Linked DNA regions of Homo sapiens: all the other regions are linked to region 3. Evidence: promoter capture Hi-C in 16 types of primary human blood cells and fetal thymus (Javierre and others, 2016). All regions are on one chromosome and are shown on one strand. The core of a region is centred on a gene start or on the middle of the fragment in contact, and the rest is flanking DNA. Distances in the headings are between cores, read along the strand shown. Region 1 holds the start of CENPH (centromere protein H). Region 2 overlaps CENPH (centromere protein H). Region 3 holds the start of OCLN (occludin).

Region 1 (3,121 bases), core at 152-2,651, 300 kb after region 3:
GAGGAGGAAAAAACAATAAAAAAGAAATAGACATCTTTTCATTTTTCAAAACATTTAAGAAAGAAAAAAATGGTAATTAATTTTTTTTTTTTGAGTCAAGAGTCTTGCTCTATTGCCCAGGCTGGAGTGCAATGGCACAATCTTCTGCTCACTGCAACCTCTGCCTCCCGGGTTCAATCAATTCTCTTGCCTCAGCCTCCTGAGTAGCTGGGATTACAGGCGCCCGCCACCACGCCCAGCTAATTTTTGTATTTTTAGTAGAGACGGGGTTTCACCATGTTGGCCATGGTTGGCCAGGCTGGTCTTGAACTCCTGACTTAAGGTGATCCGTCTGCCTCGGCATCCCAAAGTGTTGGGATTACAGGCGTGAGCCACCGCGCTCAGCCAATAATGATTTTTTTAAAACTACCTCTGTTATGATATAGAACAGAGGACCGCAAATTTTTTTCTGTAAAGGACCTGATAGTAAATTTTTTAGGGTTTGTGAGTCACACGGTCTCTGTTTTAGCTACTCAATTCCACCCTTGTGGCAGGAAAGTTGTACTCCAATAAAACTGTTTATGGAAACTGAAACTTGAATTTCTAATAGAGTTCACGTGTTATGAAATATTTTTATGATCTTTTCCCTGCAACACTTAAACATAAAAACTATTCTTAGCTTGAGTGGTCACACAAAAATAGGCAGTTAGGCAGATTTGGCCCAGGACCTTCTCCTGCTCACTAGTTTAGAAGACGAATGTCCCTTCTCATCGAATCTTCCCCAGCAACCGCTTAGTGGAAAAGTATAAACACCGTCCGCTTAGTAGAATTTATAACATATAAAGCTTCTGGGTTACAAAGGGTCGTAGTTCTAAAAGAAATGGTAGGGGCACCTTCCTTCCAGTTTAGCTCTGGCATTCAATTTGTCTGTAAACCAGAGAGGTAGGGGGAGGGCGGGGAAACAGGAGGAGAAATTACAGCTTCTAAGGGCCCGGGGCACTGTGCTCAACACTTTCCTAGACTATCTCATTTAACCCTTGTAACCTCTCTCCAGGGGGTCATTTTTCTCTCCTTTTCGCTGATGAAGAAAGAGCTTCAACAGTTTAAGTGAATGAGGCAATCACGGAGACCTGACGTGACCGAGCGTGAATTCGAACCCTAGCCCTTCTGAGCAAGGGCGGAGTTCCGGGCCACAACGCCCACTTGGCCCCGGCTGAGGAGGCCAAAGGGAACAACCTGAGGAGCAGGGTCATGCGGTCCTCGCTGCACGCCGCCTGGGCGCCGGCGACCTGCGGTGGCCCGCCTGCCCGGCCTTCCCCTCCGGAGTCCGCGGGCTCGTCGGCGTCTTGCATCTGGGGCTGCTCCTCCATTGCTGGTTGAGGGGAAAGGCTACCACTCAACAGGCAAACGCGCTCAGAAAAGGTCGCTTTTCCCGCCACTAAATGGACGCCGGGAAAAGGCCCGAGGGCCCCGCCCCTTCCGCCCAGGGCCCCACCCTTTCCGCCTTGTTTTTCGGTTGCCGTGGTTACTACGGGCTCCTCTTTCATCCGGGCTCTACTGGTGAAAATAACTGCAGACGGCTGGTAAAAAGTTGGAATAGCTTTCGTTAAGCGTCGGATGTGTAGAGTGCTGAGTTAGGGGCTGGACTAGAGACGTTGGGACATCTCCCGGGAACAGCAGCCTGGAGGGGAAAAATCTCCTGACCTAAGTGGTCATTCGGCCTTGGCGCTTGGACACGGGAGTGCGGCGACAGCCATATGTCCATCCATCTTGGCACTTTTCCGTCCTCTGCCTTTGAAGATGGGTGTGCCCGGCAGGCTGTGAAAGATAAACATTAGAGGGTTGTTTAGAAGACTTTTTTGACCTGAGCCCATGAGGTGCATACCCTTTGTTTGGCGGAGAAACCAGTGGCTTCTGAAGATCAGGGACGGGCCACAAGTGCGAGGCATTGCAGACATTTCGAACCCAGACTTCCAGCCTGGAGACATCCACACGCTTCCAGTTTCTTGCACTGGTACTTCATTCTGTCATTATGATTGCCACCACTCGTAACTGAGAGTTGCGTGCCCTCAAGTTTTGAGTGTCTGCAGGGTACCTTTGAGCTTTCTTAGCTGTGTAGTGAGTGGGGGGAATGGAGAAAATGAAGGACAGATGACTGATTTGTAGTTTTTCATTTGGACACTGTCCTTGCCGCACAAGCACAGCAGCTTGAACCTCTTTGAACAAGAGTCGAGAGTTCTTTTACAGCTAATTACCCACTAGTTAAACTTGATCATACTGTGCTGTTTTCTTCCTCTCCATTGTCAATGTAATACGGCTCCTGACAAAAGTTAAATTCGCTGGGCGTGGTGGCTCACCCCTGTACTCCCAGCACTTTGGGGGCTGAGGCGGGTGGATCACCTGAAGTCAGGAATTCAAGACCAGCCTGGCCAACATGGTGAAACCCCGTCTCTACTAAAAATACAAAAGTTAGCTGCGTGTGGTGGCGGGCGCCTGTAATCCCAGCTACTCAGGAGGCTGAGGCAGGAGAATCGTTTGAACCCGGGGGGGCGGAGGTTGCAGTGAGCTGAGATCGCGCCACTGCACTTCAGCCTGGGTGACAGAGTGAAACTCCGTCTCAAAAAAAAAAAAAAAAGCCGGGCGCTGTGGCTCACACCTATAATCCCAGCACTTTGGGAAGCCGAGGGGGGAGGATCTCGAGGTCAGGAGTTGGAGACCAGCCTGACCAACATGGAGAAACCTCGTCTCTACTAAAAATACAAAATTAGCCAGGCGTGGTGGTGGGCACCTGTAATCCCAGCTACTGGGGAGGCCGAGGCAGGAGAATCCTTTGATCCCGGGAAGCAGAGGTTGCAGTGAGCCGAGATCACACCAGAGATGCACGCCAGCCTGGGCAACAGAGCAAGATTCCTTCTCGAAAAACAAACAAACAAACAAAAAAACAGTTCAAAAGACACAGAATGGACTGGTGGCGATGGCCCACGCCTGTAATCCCAGCACTTTGGGAAGCCAAAGCGGAAGGATCGCTTGAAGTCAGGAGAACAGCCTGGGCAGCATAGTGAGACCTCGTTTCTACTTAAAACAAAAACAAACAAACAAACAAAAAAACAACAGGTGTGGTGACTTAGACCTGTGGTCCCAG
Region 2 (3,216 bases), core at 344-2,843, 290 kb after region 3:
CATATAAACATTTATTTTATTATTATTTTTTGAGATGGAGTCTCACTGTTGCCTAGGCTGGAGTGCAGTGGTACAATCTCGGCTCACTGCAGCCTCCGCCTCCCAGGGGTTCAAGTGATTCTCCTGCCTCAGCGTCCTGAATAGCTGGGATTACAGGCGCCCACCACCACACCTGGCTAATGTTTGCATTTTTAGTATAGATAGGGGTTTTGCCACGTTGGCTGGGCTAGTCTCCAACTCCTGACCTCCAGTGATCCACCCGCCTCGGCCTCCCAAAGTGCTGAGATTACAGGCGTGAGCCACCGCGCCCGGCCAAGGAATCTTACTTTTCATTTAAAATTAATCTTATTTGGCCAGGCACGGTGGCTCACACCTGTAATCCCAGCACTTTGGGAGGCCGAGGTGGGCGGATCACCTGAGGTCAGGAGTTCGAGACCAGCCCCGCCAACATGGCGAAACCCCATCTCTATGAAAAATACAAAAATTAGCTGGGCATGGTGACATGTGCCTATAATCCCAGCTACTCAGGAGGCTGAGGCAGGAGAATCACTTGAACCCAGAGGCAGAGGTTGCAGTAAGCTGAGATTGCACCATTGCACTCCAGCCTGGGCAACAAGAGTGAAACTCTGTCTCAGGAAAAAAAAAAAAGTAAGATTCCCCTCTCCAGGGATAAACATCATCAATCATTTTTTGTATTACTGGAAATAGTCTAAGAATTAAACTACTTGGAAATATAAATGGATGTATTTCAGGGGCCTGTTCTTCAACATTAATGTATATTAAAGGAGGTTGGAATGCAGTGGAGAAAATGAATCATCAAAAGGGTATAGCCTGAGCATGGGTGGCTCATTCTTATAATTCCAACACTTTGGAAGGCTGAGGCAGGAAGATTGCCAGAAGTTCGAGACCACCCTGGGAAACATAGCAAGACCCTGATTCTACTTAAAAAAACATGGGGGAATAGACAAGATGACCAATACTACTAATGACCCTGAGATTATTTGCTAACAGGCAAATCTATATAATGTTTACAAATGACAAATCTGAGCAGGGTGCAGTGACTCATGCCTGTTATCAGCACTGTGGGAGGCTGAGGAGGGTGGATCACCTGAGGTCAGGAGTTGGAGACCAACCTGGCCAACATGATGAAACCCGTCTCTACTAAAAATATAAATCAGTGGGGCATGGTGGCAGGCGCCTGTAATCCCATGTAATCCCAGCTACTCAAGAGGCTGAGGTAGGAGAACTGCTTGAACCTGGGAGACAGGGGTTGTAGTGAGCCGAGATCACGCCATTGCACTCCAGCCTGGGTGACAAGAGCGAAACTCCATCTCAATAAAAACAAACAAACAAAACACCGGCTGGGCACGGTGGCTCATGCGTATAATCCCAGCACTTTGGGAGGCCGAGGTGGGTGGATAACCTGAGGTAGGGAGTTCGAGACCAGCCGGACCAATGTGGAGAAACCCCGTCTCTACTAAAAAGACAAAATTAGCTGGGAGTGGTGGCGGGCGCTTGTAATCCCAGCTACTCGGGAGGCTGAGGCAGGAGAATCGCTTGAACCTGAGAGGCGGAGGTGCAGTGAGCCGAGATCACGCCATTGCACTCCAGCCTGGGCAACAAGAGAGAAATTCCGTATAAAAAAAAAAAACCCAACCAACAAATCTGGCCAGGCACAGTGGATCACAGGATCCCGTCTGTAATCTTAGCACTTTGGGAGGCCAAGGTGGGCAGATCACTTGAGCCCAGGAGTTCTATACCAGCCTGTGTAACATGGTGAATGAATCCTGTCTCTATAGAAAAATAAATTTAAGAAATCTACAGAAAAAAAGGCCGGGCATGGTGGCTCATGCCTGTAATCCCAGCACTTTGGGTGGTCGAGGAGGGCGGATCACGAGGTCAGGAGATGGAGACCATCCTAGCTAATATGGTGAAATCCGGTCTCTACTAAAAATACAAAAAAATTAGCCGGGCGTGGTGGCGGGTGCCTGTAGTCCCAGCTACTCAGGAGGCTGAGGCAGAAGAATGGTGTGAACCCGGGAGGTGGAGCTTGCAGTGAGCTGAGATAGTGCCACTGCACTCCAGCCTGGGCGACAGAGCGAGACTCCGTCTCAAAAAAAAAAAAAAAAAAAAAAAAGATATCTACAGAAAAAAAACAATTAGCCAGGCATGGTGGCATGCACCTGTAGTCCCAACTATCAGGGATGCTGAGGTGAAAGGATTGCTCGAGTCCAGGAAGTTGAGGCTGTAGTGAGCCATGAGTGTGCCTCCAGCCTGAGTAACAGAACAAGACCCTGTCTCAAAAAACAAAAAGGCCGGTCACAGTGGCTTACGCCTATAATCCCAGCACTTTGGGAGGCAGAGGCGGGGAGAACACTTTGAGGTGAGGAGTTCGAGACCAGCCTGGACAACATGGTGAAACCCTGTATCTACTAAAAATACAAAAATTAGCCAGGCGTGGTGGCACGCCTGTAATCCCAGCTACTCGAGAGGCTGACGCAGAAGAATGGCTTGAATCCAGGAGACAGAGGTTGCAGAGAGCCAAGATCGCGCCACTGCACTCCAGCTTGGACAACAGAGCGAAACTATTTCAAAACAAAAACAAACAAACAAAAAAAGGTTGGCCAGGCGAGGTGGCTCATGCCTGTAATCCCAGCACTTTGGGAGGCTGAGGTGGGTGGATCACGAGGTCAGGAGATCAAGACCATCCTGGCTAACATGGTGAAACACCGTCTCTACTAAAAATACAAAAAATTAGCTGGGCGTGGTGGCGGGTGCCTGTAGTCCCAGCTACTCAGAAGGCTGAGACCGGAGAATCACTTGAATCCAGGAGGTGGAGATTGCCATGAGCTGAGATCGCACCACTGCACTCCAGCCTGGGCGACAGAGGGAGACTCCATCTCAAAAAAAAAAAAAAAAAGAAAAAGAAAAAAAATGGCTGGGTGCGATGGCTCATACCTGTAATCCCAACACTTTGGGAGGCAGAGGTGGATGAATCACGAGATCAGGAGTTCAAGACCAGCCTGGCCAAGACAGTGAAACCCTGTCTCTACTAAAAATACAAAAAATTAGCCAGGCATGCTGGTTGGCGCATGTAATCCCAGCTACCCGGGAAGCTGAGGCAGAGAATTTCTTCAACCCGGGAAGCAGAAGTTGCAGTGAGCCGAGATTGCAGCACTGCACTCCAGCCTGGGTGACAGAGCAAGACAGCATCTC
Region 3 (3,293 bases), core at 742-3,241:
GTTGGGATAATTAAATGAGAAAATACAGAATGCTTTTACCACAGTGCCTCACGTGCAGGAGGCACTGCTGCCCACTATTTCCCGAAATGGCCTGGAAACTGCCAAAAGGTGGAGAATCATGTCTTACCGATCTCCCTATCCTCTGCTCCGTCACCTAACAAAGGAGGCCCCTAATAACTAAATAAATTGCAAAACGACCAAAAAAAAAGTGTTGCTTTGTTTGAGGAAATATCTCTGCCTCCCACACACACTTAAGATGTCTATTTTAAAGCACCACTAAGAAAATATTCATAAAGGCTGGGTGTGGTGGCTTACGCCTGTAATCCCAGCACTTTGGGAGGCCAAGGCGGGCGAATCACCTGAGGTCAGGAGTTCGAGACCAGCCTGACCAAATGGCAAAACCCTGTCTCTACTAAAAATACAAAAATTAGCTGTGCATACTAGTGGGTGCCTGTAATCCCAGCTATTCGGGAGGCTGAGCAGGAGAATCGCTTGAACCCGGGAGGCAGAGGTTGCAGTGAGCCCAGATGATGCCACTGCACTGGGGGACAGAGCCAGACTCCGTCTCGGAAAAACACACACACACACACACACAAGCACCTCATATGTACAGTGCAAAAGAACTACTGTTACTATTGTTACACTTGGGAACGCCTAGTTTTCTATCACACCAAGAATCACCAAAAAACACCATAAGTGCCTTCATGGGAAACGTTTCTCTTTTCCAGGTATCCCAATAATACACCTGTTGCCTAAGGGCCACACACTGACTGGCCTGGAAAGCCGCCGCCTCCTCCTCGAGCAGGGTAATTCCCCAAGCGGGCAGTGTGGCCAGCGAGCCCCGGGTCCGGCCTAAGGATGCCGCGGCTTTTCCCTCGGGCCCGGTGGCTTCCCGAGGAGCGCGAGGGGCTCGGCGCCGCTCCCAACCCCTAGGCGCAGAGGCCATCTTGGCCCTCGACCCCTGCTCCCCGCACGCTTCCTCCGACGCAGGCAACATGGCTGGCGCGCGGGGCCGGCCCAGTCCCGGAGGTCCCCAAACTCCGTGGCCCGGCTGGGCGCGGGTCCCGGCTTCCGTGCGCACCGAGGCGCTCCCAGGCAGCGCGCGCCCACGTTCGCCGGGCAGGCACCGCCCGGAGGCAGTTCCGCCCCCCTGGGGGCAGCCCTTTTGGTCACGGATGAGAATCCGAAGCGTGAGCAGCTTCCCTCGAAGTCCAGCCTCACTCGAAATTAACTCCCCGCCCCCCAGCTTAAATCGACGCGGGTTCACACAACTCGCAACAAGTGGATTCGAAGTAGCCAGTGTGGCCCACACCGTGACTCCTGGAATATTTCACAGATTGAATCCAGCCCCCGTCTCCCCGGGATATCCAAAGGGGTGGGGTGGGAGCGGAAGGAATGAAATTCCCCCCGGGATCTAAGCCGCCCGGGCCGCCGAACAGCCGCCTCGCTGCAGCCTCAGGCTTAGGACCCCCAAGGAGCTGGGCGCAGGATCCCTCTCCATGAAGGCCGCCCCCCCAAACTGCAGCCCCAGAGCGGATGCAGGATCGTCGCTGTTCAGGAATGTCGTGCCCCATAAAAGTGAAAAGTTGCCCGCGCCGCTGAGGCACTGCTAGCTTTCAGCGTTTCCGCGGAATAAAGCTTGATCGGCGGCTCCAAGCCACCCCTCGCCCCAGGAGGCAGCCTCCCAAGTTGGCCGGTGCTGCTCTCTCCGCAGACCCGCGCCTCTCTGGTTCCCACGAGTCCCAGCTCGGGGACGAAACTGCCACCGAAACCAGCGCGGAGCGTCCTCCCCCCGGCACCTCCCCTAACATAGTCGCCGCGGTCCCCCCACGGGGACCCTCGGGCTCCCGTGCGCCCCTGACGCCGCGCCCAACACTCACCCGCTCGCCGCAACTGGGCCCGACCCTCCGGGGGCCAACGGTGCCAGGGAGCGCGCTCACCTGGCGGGCGCACCTGACGCCGCACCGACCGCCAGCGCTCAGCCGGGGACTGGGCTGGGGACGTCTCCTCCCCCTTCTCCCTCTCCTTTCCCTCCTCCCTACAACCGGCCCTGCCCCCGGGCATGCGCACCAACGTGGAAGGGGGTGCGGGAAGCCTGCGGGCCAGCGCCGCGAGTCCCACCTGCTGCGTCCTAGACCGGCTCCTCGGCGCTCTGGACCTGGCTCTCGGTTCCTGCCGCCTCCGCCAGAGGAAGCAGGGAGGGAGAGGTGGACGCGGGAGTGTAGGTGTGGTGTGTCGGCCTCCTCCCTCGGTGACCAATTCACCTGAAACTCGGATGGGAGGGGGCGGGAGGACGCGGTCCTGCTTCCCACACCCTGCCAGCGCGCTGTTAAAGGAACCGCGCGACGTTGCGGCCCGAGAGGCGGGGCGCAGAGGAGAGGCGCGGGCTCCTAGGGGGCAGCACGGATGGGGGTCCCTGACCACCCCGGGGTGCGTTCGGTGCTCCGCCTGCTTCGGATGGAACCTTGGGGTGTCTGATGGAGAGAGGCCGAACGAGGTCCAGAGGGGACTGTTTCCTCCGGAAAGAGGGTCCAGGCACTCAGCACTTTGATAGGAAAGGCACGTCCTCACAGGACACTTTTCTGCTTCCAGAATTTGATTAAACTGTTGCTGGAAAAAGGCATCTAGATGTATTGCTCCAACGAAAGACTCCTGGGAAAATTTCAAAAGTCGTGTGTAAACATTGGCGCTGTTTCTGAATCTCTAGATTCAGAATAAGAGACAATTACTTAGAGGGGTTAAAATGAGGGTGAACTACTGTAGGTGTTAGTTGCCATCCAGCAGGCTAAAGTGCATAATACAGTTTACACATCACCACCCCAGGGTCCTCTCCTGCCCACCCGGTCCGCTCTTGAGGACCGGGAAATTTAAACTATTATGGCTCTTTGGCCTGAGAAAAAGCACCTTATACGTTGTTTACCAACCTGTAGTGCTTTAAGAACAACACTACTTAAAAAGCAAAATAAACTTGGTTTACTTTTTTTTTTTTTTTAAGAAAACGAAAAAGCACCTTAGTTCCGGGTGCTGTATTCTATTTCTTGATCTGGATTCTGTTTCCAAGGGAAATTTCATAGTCTGCACTTAACACTGTGTATATTTTTATGTATGTTGGTTGTTTTTCAACATATTTTTTAATTGTACTCCAGGATGTGGCAATTATAGTTCTTGGCATTTAACTATCTGCATTGAAAGCGAACTTTTAGGTTTCTTACATCCTGCTTGTCTTTGTGTTCCAATCTGGAATGTCAGCATTGCTAATAAATTTCTATCCAATCCCACCCACTTCTCTACCT

The links. The method cuts DNA at HindIII sites, captures the fragments that hold promoters and counts their contacts. A CHiCAGO score of 5 or more calls a contact.
Region 1: the fragment with the promoter of CENPH here is called in contact with the fragment with the promoter of OCLN in region 3 in 2 of 17 cell types (neutrophils and erythroblasts); the score reaches 10.5 in neutrophils.
Region 2: a fragment that was not itself captured here is called in contact with the fragment with the promoter of OCLN in region 3 in 1 of 17 cell types (neutrophils); the score reaches 5.4 in neutrophils.

The regions. Positions count from the first base shown.
Region 1 is chr5:69,187,863-69,190,983 of GRCh38, reverse strand. CENPH (centromere protein H) reads right to left here and starts at 1,401. Exons shown (of 9, transcript NM_022909.4): 1 at 1,216-1,401. The coding sequence starts at 1,349. It overlaps LOC112267932 (a long non-coding RNA gene), which reads left to right and starts at 1,507. Exons shown (of 2, transcript XR_002956215.2): 1 at 1,507-1,993. RefSeq lists a silencer at 1,350-1,469 and enhancers at 1,328-1,622, 1,550-1,789. The HindIII fragment of the contact is 12,435 bases long and covers 827-3,121 here.
Region 2 is chr5:69,204,624-69,207,839 of GRCh38, reverse strand. All of the region lies in intron 7 of CENPH (centromere protein H), which reads right to left. Among named protein-coding and RNA genes, the nearest start is that of KGD4, 12 kb to the left of the region's middle. The HindIII fragment of the contact is 3,917 bases long and covers 1-3,216 here.
Region 3 is chr5:69,491,488-69,494,780 of GRCh38, reverse strand. OCLN (occludin) reads right to left here and starts at 1,991. Exons shown (of 9, transcript NM_001205254.2): 1 at 1,881-1,991. The HindIII fragment of the contact is 10,406 bases long and covers 1,641-3,293 here.